Linked DNA regions of Homo sapiens: region 1 is linked to region 2. Evidence: promoter capture Hi-C in 16 types of primary human blood cells and fetal thymus (Javierre and others, 2016). All regions are on one chromosome and are shown on one strand. Each heading gives the region's core, a stretch centred on a gene start or on the middle of the fragment in contact. The rest is flanking DNA. Distances are from core to core; before and after follow the strand shown.

Region 1 (4,516 bases), core at 1,894-4,393, 100 kb before region 2:
TTGACTGCACACCACAAATCTCTGCTCGTTTGAGTGCCCTAAGGCTCTGTTTCTTCTCTCCCCTGTAGATAGGTAAGCAGCAGAAAACTGCTTTATGAGCCCTAATTATTACCTTTCCCCCTCTTTATGGAATAATCAGGTCTTATAGATCCAATTATTACTATATTTATACACATCTTGCAGTCTGAAAGATCCTGTGTGGACCTCAAAATACCAGTATTTCCCCTCTGAAGTATTACTGTTTCTTACTTCAGAAAATGCTAGAAATTCACAGTATCCCTATGCTCAGAATCTATGATAAACAGCAAGATGATCTGAGATTCTTTTGATTTGAAAATAGCTCAGTCTCCTTTGAATGAAACCTATACCAAATCTCACTCTCTAGTAATTTGTGCTGTGGAAAGTATAAAATTGAGCCTAATTCCATGAAATAAACCATGCTTGCAAAGTACTGTGTGTCTGTAAACTATTAATTTCTTACTATGACACAGGTATCCATTGCTATAGAAGAAGTCACACGCTGTCATATAAGATTTACCTTCCGACACAGGTCATCTCAGGAAAGTAAGTATTAAGACGTCTATGACATATTTCCACTTAAAAAAAATTTGCTCTGGCTTGACAGCCATCTTGTGAAGCTGGAGAACAAGATATTTGGAAACTAGAGACTTGGCAGCTGTATTTTGTAACTCACTGGTGCTAAGGAAATCAGCATAATGAATTTTGCTGGGCGTGCAAGGTCTGTGTTGTCACTCTATATTAGGATTTCCTCAAAATGTGTTTTGTGAACACTAATATTCTCAAAGACAGCAGTCCTCAATCTTTGGCACCAGAGACTGGTTTTGTGAAAGCCAGTTTTTCCAAGGACCAGGGGTGGGGTGATGGTTTCAGGGTAATTCAAGCACATTACATTTATTGTTTTCTTTATTCTTATTACATTGTAATATATAATGAAATAATTATACAACTCACCATAATGTAGAATCAGTGGGAGCCCTGAGCTTGTTTTCCTGCAACGAGACAGTTCAGATCATCAGGCATTAGATTTCCACAAGGAATGTGCAACCTAGATCCCTTGCATGCACAGGTCACAATAGGGTTCGGCTCCTGTGAGAATCTAACGCTGCTGCTGATCCAACAGGAGGCGGAGCTCAGGTGATAATGCGAGCAGTGGGGAGCAGCTGTGAAGACAGATGAAGCTTTGCTTGCTCCTCCGCCGCTTACCTCCTGCTGTGTAGCCCAGTTCCTAACAGGCCACAGACTGGTATGGGTTTATGGCTTGGGGTTTGAGGTCCCCTGCTCTAAGATGCTACTAGATGCTCTATAACAAAAAGTGTTGTATTTCACAATCAAATAGGTATAGGAAAGGCTATATATACATTGTATCTCCCTCCTAGACGTTCACAATGCGTGTTGCCATGTTGCAGTAGCAAGAAAACTCTTTATTCACTTGTCTCCCCAAATTATCATTTTTCTCATGAAAAAACTCTTTCAAGTCTTAGGTCACAGTTCTTGAAATGGCTACACTAAAGTGTAAGCAGAGAAGAAAATTGATTGTTTTCAGATTGATCACAAAATTTCTGGAATCGTCTTATTCTCATTTCGCACTGCATAAAAATGTAACCCCTCCTTCCAAAAATGCATGTGTTGAACACCATCTACACAACAGGCTGCAGGCGAGGCCCTGGTCTATGACAGCCAGCTGGACACTCCCACGCAGAGTCTTTGTGGTCTGGTTAGGAAGATGAACGAAAAAGTGGGTGGTTATGTACGGAATAGTATGATATGTACATTACAAGGGGCAAAGACTTGTAATGGAAGCGTAGCACAGCACCTTACCCAGTCTGGGGGATTTATGCATATGACCTCCTACATCTTAGCTGAGACTTGAAGGTGAGTAGAAATTAGCCCAGTGAAGGGTGATGGGAGAAGTGTGTTTGGAGAACCAAATGAACTCAGTATGGCTAAAGCAGGACCAGTGGAGCAATAATAGTATCAGGTTGAATCGTGTGAAATTGGCATTTTTTAGGTCTAAATGGCCAAATATCAGCCATTTCATATGGTTCTGCATAATAACTAACAATTGTCAATTAACAATTAACAAAGGTCAAGTTTGTATGAAGTATTATGTGAAGCTATATTTGTACATGGTCCTGTTTAGTATCCACAATAATATAACAAGGTACATTCTACTTTTATCTACATTTATACACAAAGAAACTAAGGCATGGAGAGGTTAGGCACTTGCCTGTGGTCACAAGGCTAGCATATGACCAGGCTGGGTTAGCACCCAGACAATCTGATTCTAGCTGGGCTGGAGCCGGATCATGAAGGCTGAAGATGTTTTTCAGCCATGTTAAGGAGGTGCAATTCAAGGGTGGTTTCTGGTTTTGAGGTTTTGGGAGGGGTTGGTCTATGTTCATAACAGCTTCACCCATAGTACTCCAACACTAGAATAGCCTAAATCCCCATCAATAGGAGAATGGATAAACAAATTGAGGTATGATCATACAATGGATGACTACTCCACCACTGTGGGGACCCAAGGGGCACAGCAGACCACAGAGCCGTGCCTATGATAAAAACAGGCCACAGGTTACCCTACTCAGAGCCACTGAAGCAGGGGACCCGGTGAGTTCAGAGACTGGCCCCGAAGACCAAGAGAGAGGAGCTCTGCCTCCTCATGAAGCTGCACCCTCCTCCCAGCTGCCACAGGGCATGCAGATCTTCTTTCCTGGCACTGGAGCTGGTATTCTGGGGAGGAAGGGTAAAGAAACTTTGGGCAGCACCATAAACCCTAGAGTAGAATAAATATCTTGCAGAGCCTGTTTTAGAGCAACATAAATTGAGATCTCTCATTCAAGTGTTTTGAAGCAGCGTGGTTGACATGATTGGATTGGACTTTGGAAACCTCATTCCAACATAGAGAATGTGTTTGGTGGGAGAGCCTAGAGACAGAGAGATGCGCTGGGAAGGTCTTGTAGAAATAAAGAGAAGAGGTGAGTGTGGCCTGAAGTCAGGAAGGACAGCAAGATGGAGAGAGAAGAGACAGGCTCCAGAGCTGTTTAGGACATGGAGTTGACGTGGGGTGGAGTTGGTGTCAACACCCACATTTCTGATTTGGATGACTGGGCAGATGCTAGTCTCATTTATTAGGGGATGTAGGAAGAGGAGAGCATACTTGGGGGTGCCAGGCAGTTTCAGTGGCACATGGTACGTGGCTTATTGCAGTTTGCTCAGTTGTGCTTATTAGAATATGGTTGAACGCTGCACCCCCGAGCAAAATGTGAAATCGTGTCATAGCCATCGCCTCCTGGTGTCTCTCTGCACTGCTCAGACATGTCTTTCTGCCTTTTCAGCCAGAGATAAATCGGAGCGAGCATTTGGGGTGGCCTTCGTGAAGCTGATGAACCCGGATGGCACCACTCTGCAGGATGGGAGGCACGATCTGGTGGTTTATAAGGTGGTGCTAACAGAAAATGGCTGAGAAAAATACTCCCTTTCAAATGAGCATTTAAGACTCCTTTCATATTTATTTGTACAAACATCAGAAACCTTTCTAGAGCTTTCTGTACTTGCCCATTAACATCTAGAAACCCAGAGGGCTCTGGGCCCTCCAGCTTTGTGGTTTCCCACCTGCTTTCTGGAGAGAGTGAGTTGCATTATTACTGAGTCTTCTAAGGAGGCTCTCACCTCCTTAGACCTCTCACGGGAGAGGTCCTGTGAATGGTGTTCCCTAGCAGTGAATGGTAAGGGGTCGGCCTCTCATGATCTGCTCTTTTCATCATCCTGCATGGCACATGGACAGGTGCACTGTTGGGCTTCAGTAGTGTGTGGTGGATATGGTTTTCCCATCACCATGAGCCACATACTATTTCTGTGCTCTGGGGGCCTTATTTCCTTCCCTGAAAGTTTTGTCTTTGTTCTTGCCTTCCAACTGATGCTGAGCTCCCACTTCTACTGAGATTTTAGAGTATAAAGTAGATGCTGGAAGATCTCATTTAGCCAACAATATCTGGGGATTTCCCCACAGTTGGCTGCTCTTTTGAGATGCATCTACCTGAGGAATATTTTTCTTAACATCTTAGTTTATGAATCATTTTGGAAGGGATGGCAAGCTAATTCTTCTTCCATCAACCCAATAAAGTATAATTGTCCCCATTTTTTAATTACACTTCAAGTTTTAGGGTACATGTGCACAACGTGCAGGTTTGTTACAGATGTATACATGTGCCATGTTGGTGTGCTGCACCCATTAACTTGCCATTTAACATTAGGTATATCTCCTAATGCTATCCCTCCCCCCTCCCCGCCCCCGCCACAACAGGCCCTGGTGTGTGATGTTCCCCTTCCTGTGTCCATGTGTTCTCATTGTTCAATTCCCACCTATGAGTGAGAACATGCGGTGTTTGGTTTTTTGTCCTTGTGATAGTTTGCTGAGAATGATGGTTTCCAGCTTCATCCATGTCCCTACAAAGGACATGAACTCATCCTTTTTTATGGCTGCATAGTATTC
Region 2 (4,733 bases), core at 1,621-4,120:
CTAGTGCTGTCTAACCACCAACTGGGATTGTCATGAAACACGGTCCTACCACAGGAGGTAACAGAGGAGTCAGGAATGTAAGCCCCACAGTATCTGGGAGGTAGCTGTCCTAAGTGATCCCCAAAGGCTTATCCACCTCTAGAGCTCTATGCTGTGATCATGTTATGATCACTTTAACTTACCAGAGCTCCTTTCAGGTCTCGGAGGGGAGAACGTGGCTGGTGCGTGGTGCATTCGAAGCGTTGGGTTTCTGCCAGTTGACCAACCTCTTTGACTATCTGAAGAAAGAGAATGTGATGCTTTGAGATGGAGATAAAGAAATGAAATGGTGTTTTCCATTTCCACCAAAAAATTGTGGAGAGTGGGGTCAAGGGGGATGTGGGGCTGGGGGAGATTGGGAAAGTTGCAGGATTAGCATAGGGACTTTAAGGACACAGATCTGCCATCTGACATTTCTACTGAATGGCATGGGGATCTGGAGATAATGGAGACAGTAAGAAGATATCATATTTTCCCCTTAAAGATGAAAAGAGGGAGGCACTTTGAGCCTCATGAGAGTCAGTATACCCAAAAAAACAAAAAGCAAAAAACCCCCAAGAGTTTATAGTTGTAAAAAAAGGTTGGTTTTTATTTTCTAGGTTTTACTAAATATGTTATAGTTCAATGAGATTTGCTTCATGTATAACCTGCAGAGAAGAGGCTTCAGATTCTGGGTCTTCTTTAATACTAAATTATCTTTATTATTTCTCAGAAAAGAGATAATTCCTTCCAATGATAATGAAATGATTTAAAATTTTTCCCATTCTCAGTCCTAGGTTATTTTTCAGGTTAATCAGCTAACATAGATGGCTTCTTTCCTTACATGACCCTGATGAGTGGTCATATTTTATAAACAAAAATCCTCCCGGCACTTTGGGAGGCCAAGGTGGGAGGATCCCTTGAGCCCAGGAGTTTGAGACCAGCCTGGGCAACATAGGGAAACCCCATCTCTATAAAAAGTTTTAAAAATTAGTTGGGTGTGATAGTGCATGCCTGTGGTCCCAGCTATGCAGACGGCTGAGGTGGGAGGATCACTTGAGCCCAAGAAGTCAAGGCTGCAGTGAGCTGTGATCGTGCCACTAAATTCCAGCCTAGATAACACAGCGAGACCCTGTCTTAGAAAATAACCCCAAAAAACAAGAAAGCAAGTACCTCACGTTAGTGTTGGTGCCAGTCCTATAATCTAATCTATATGAATTTAAATCAGCATGTTTTCTACTACGTTATCTTATCATCTTGAGTTTGCTAATTCCTGTATTCTACCAGTCTCCAACTTTGCTTAAATGCCCCTATCAGTGAAAAGAAATTATAGGGCATGCATCCTTGATAAGGATACTCATTTATAAATTATAAAAATGTACTGATCTAATAGCATAGATATGTTTAAAAGATGAAATGAGGAAAAAAAAAACGAAGTTCTAACGTTTTTTCCAAATCCCAAAGAATCATCTTCTGATACAGACCTTGACCCTATCCCATTGTTTCTAATTCCTTTAGCAATCCCATACACTCAGAGTATGACGTGCTGTCTCACACTTGTTGCTATTAATATATTCTTTTGGAATTTTTCCAGCTCTTTGTTTAGTCCCTGTGTGAACTGAAAGTAGGAATGGGACTTCTACTTTGTAAGTGCCTTATCTCACCTGGAGCATCTAGGGTACAACATCATAGAATATTGACATTGGGGCTATCCTGAATGTTTAATATAGTTAAATTGAATAAAATCACTATGTCTTATTTTGAAGCTGAGAGAAACTTACCTCTTGGAAAGAATCAATCAAATTTTCGGCATCTCTCTTTCCTCCAGGGCGCAGTCCATAGGACCAGTGCTGGCTGGAGCAGCCTTCCACGCACCAAGTCAGTAGAATAAGGCCAGCTAGGAGTTTTTGAATTGGCTTCATTCTAAGGCACATGAATGCACAATCAAATTAGATCCAGACAAGGTTGAGTATAAACTAAAAGACCTCTTTAGTGAAAAAGCTAGCATCTGTATCACTAACCCTGCAGAAGATGGAAGTCAGAGTCAGTTTTTACATACAGACACTGAAACTCAGAGACACTTGCTGGCTTGCCTTTAGTTTCTTAGCCACTGGGGACAAAATGAGTACTTAAGCTCACATGTTCAGGACCTTTTTAGTACTAAAATAGTCTATACTTTTATTTTTATTGTTTGGTTATCCAAACCCCATAATTCATCCCTTATCAAGTTCATCATTTTGCCTTAACATTTCCCCTGTTGTGGATTGGTCTTCAACTCTTTCATTCCTGAGATAAAGAGAACTGAGTCATCTGTTAAGAAAAGTAGCTCCTACTAGGAATCTCTGGCTAATATAAAATTGCTTGACATTACATGGCTACCCCATGGTACTAATGACATTTTTCTATTTATCCTTCAGTCTTCCTAGCATTACTGCTGGCTGAACCATCTGTGGGAGAGAGGACTCAACACTGTTCAAAGTAGTTAGTCCCAGACCAGATGCCTTCCTAGCCAAGGGGGCCTCTAATTTTCTAATGAAATGTGTCTCCAAGTTAATTTTCATTTGATGGGAAAGAGGCTAAAAACTAAATCAAACACTGGTCGATAAGCTGTGGGAGTCCCCAAAGCCTGGATCTCTGTGGCTGGTGATGGCAAGGACAGTGAAGGACAGGACATCATTAGATACCGTCACACCTGGATTTAGCCCTTGGGCTGTCAAATGCCCTGTAGACATACAATAGCATGCAATCTAAAGAAGAAAAACTCGTGCTAGAAATAATACAAAGCCTTTTACCTGTTTAGAGGCAGAGAGCCAAAAAGATCCCAATCTTCCCTTGAAGTAGGTTGAGTACTGTGACTTTTCTGTTTTCCTATCTTCCTTTTTATAGGGAATTTTTCCAGGACATTGAAATCTTTCCTGCTGGTAAATTATACTGCAAATGGACTATGCTTTTTTTTTTTTAATGGTAATTTTTAAAAATCCTCACATAAAGCCCTTTAATGGTGTATGTAATTGGAACACCCCCTGGTATATCTGTTAGATTTACTTAAGTGCAGCCATTAAAACCTCAGCTAAAACTTTTATAGCTGAGGACACAATTCAAAGAGATTAAAATCCAGCTAGATTGGATTCCCTTGAGGAAACCAGCAGACCTATCAAGAGTTCAAGGAAAATAGATGTCTTAGATTAAGTGAAGTCAAATGCATACATAACTTCCACAAAGGAGGCTATACAACAAATATAGGACATTGAGTCAGGATGTCTGGGAGCTTCTGGCTCTTGGATTCTTCATTTGTAAAAGGAAGGGTGTAGACTAGATGGACTAGATGATCACAGAGTTGCTTCCAATTTTAAAAATCTGATTTACAAGTAAGTGACACTATATACCAAGTCCATGTAGGATCCTAAATCAGACAGTTGTGTGTTTGAAAATTCCCTCATCTACCCACCAGGTTCCCTGCTTGACTTACCTTGAAAGCCTTCTAAAGCATCAAAAAGGCAAGAAACATATTCTGAGAGCAAGACCATATTGAGCAGACTTACATCAACAGATCAACTCATTTCAGTAGATGCTTATTGAGTTAAATATGCAAATCACTCTTAAGGGCAGTGGGAACAGAAAGATGAGAAATTATAGTTATTTAATAAATAGCAAATGTATAAGAGCATTCATTACAATAGCCATGCAAAGTGGGTATCATTATCTAAATTTTATAGATGTTCCACCCCAGAGGTGCAACCGTGGACGTGTTATTTACACAGGACAAGCATGTAAAATACACACACAACCATTACTCTTAATTACATTTATTTGAATACATGGTTGTCTTCCCCTAATTTACCCCTAGGCTGAAACCTGTAATAGTCAAAGATCCCATCTTATTTAAATCTCTCTTAATAAACCCCCGGCATTTAGTGAGCATTCAGTAAGTATAGGTTTGAATGAATGAATGAACGAATGAATGAATAGAAAGCAAAAAGCTTTTAACCAGGTAAGGCCTAATGCTGCCTCTATTTCTGCATCAAAGATATGCTTTATCTGACACAGAATTAAACTTTCATGTATAATTGGCTGTAAATCCTGTTATATTAGCTAAGCTGTAAGATGGCTAAAAAAAATAACTGGATATTTGTTCATTTTACAGCTGGGAATGGCAATTTCCCCTCATGTAGGATGCTAAACCCATCAGTCATTGCACAGTCTCCTCTGGAATAACTACATTTGCAGGGATTTCAGAGTAAAGAGAAATGGTGTCTTACCTAAGTAAATTCCCTTGCTTTGTCCAGCCATCTCTGTGGAGGCTGTCCAGTCCTCATGATAGGATAGAGAAGGGAGTACACTTTAAAGTATAACTGCAAATAGAGGAGAATTTAAAAATAAAATGTAAGTATTTGACTTTGTTCCATTTAAATTATTTCATTTAGACACTTTGACTCATGTAAGTGCCATTCTGACATGAAGAGTGGAATCTCATCTCACTACAATATGCAAGTAGGGACAGACTGTTTTTCAACCAGAGTTCATTATGGTTGAATAGTGCTAGTTTAAATTGTCCAATTGGTTTGTGTTTGCTGAGAGATGTGCCTCTAAGTATTGCTTAAGTAGAAAATGTGGTCTCTGGATAGGACTAATGAAATGAGAGTTAAGACTTGTGATGCATATTGTCAGGTGAATCACTTATCTCTGGGTAGGTAGGCCTCACTGGATTTCTTGTA

What was found. The method cuts DNA at HindIII sites, captures the fragments that hold promoters and counts their contacts. A CHiCAGO score of 5 or more calls a contact.
Region 1: a fragment that was not itself captured here is called in contact with the fragment with the promoter of GNRH1 in region 2 in 2 of 17 cell types (neutrophils and M2 macrophages); the score reaches 8.3 in neutrophils.

What each region holds. Positions count from the first base shown.
Region 1 is chr8:25,320,489-25,325,004 of GRCh38, forward strand. DOCK5 (dedicator of cytokinesis 5) reads left to right here. Exons shown (of 52, transcript NM_024940.8): 16 at 492-564; 17 at 3,360-3,463. Among named protein-coding and RNA genes, the nearest start is that of MIR6876, 23 kb to the right of the region's middle. The HindIII fragment of the contact is 3,892 bases long and covers 1,198-4,516 here.
Region 2 is chr8:25,421,391-25,426,123 of GRCh38, forward strand. GNRH1 (gonadotropin releasing hormone 1) reads right to left here and starts at 2,871. Exons shown (of 4, transcript NM_001083111.2): 1 at 2,811-2,871; 2 at 1,800-1,941; 3 at 183-278. The coding sequence starts at 1,940. The HindIII fragment of the contact is 12,746 bases long and covers 1-3,996 here.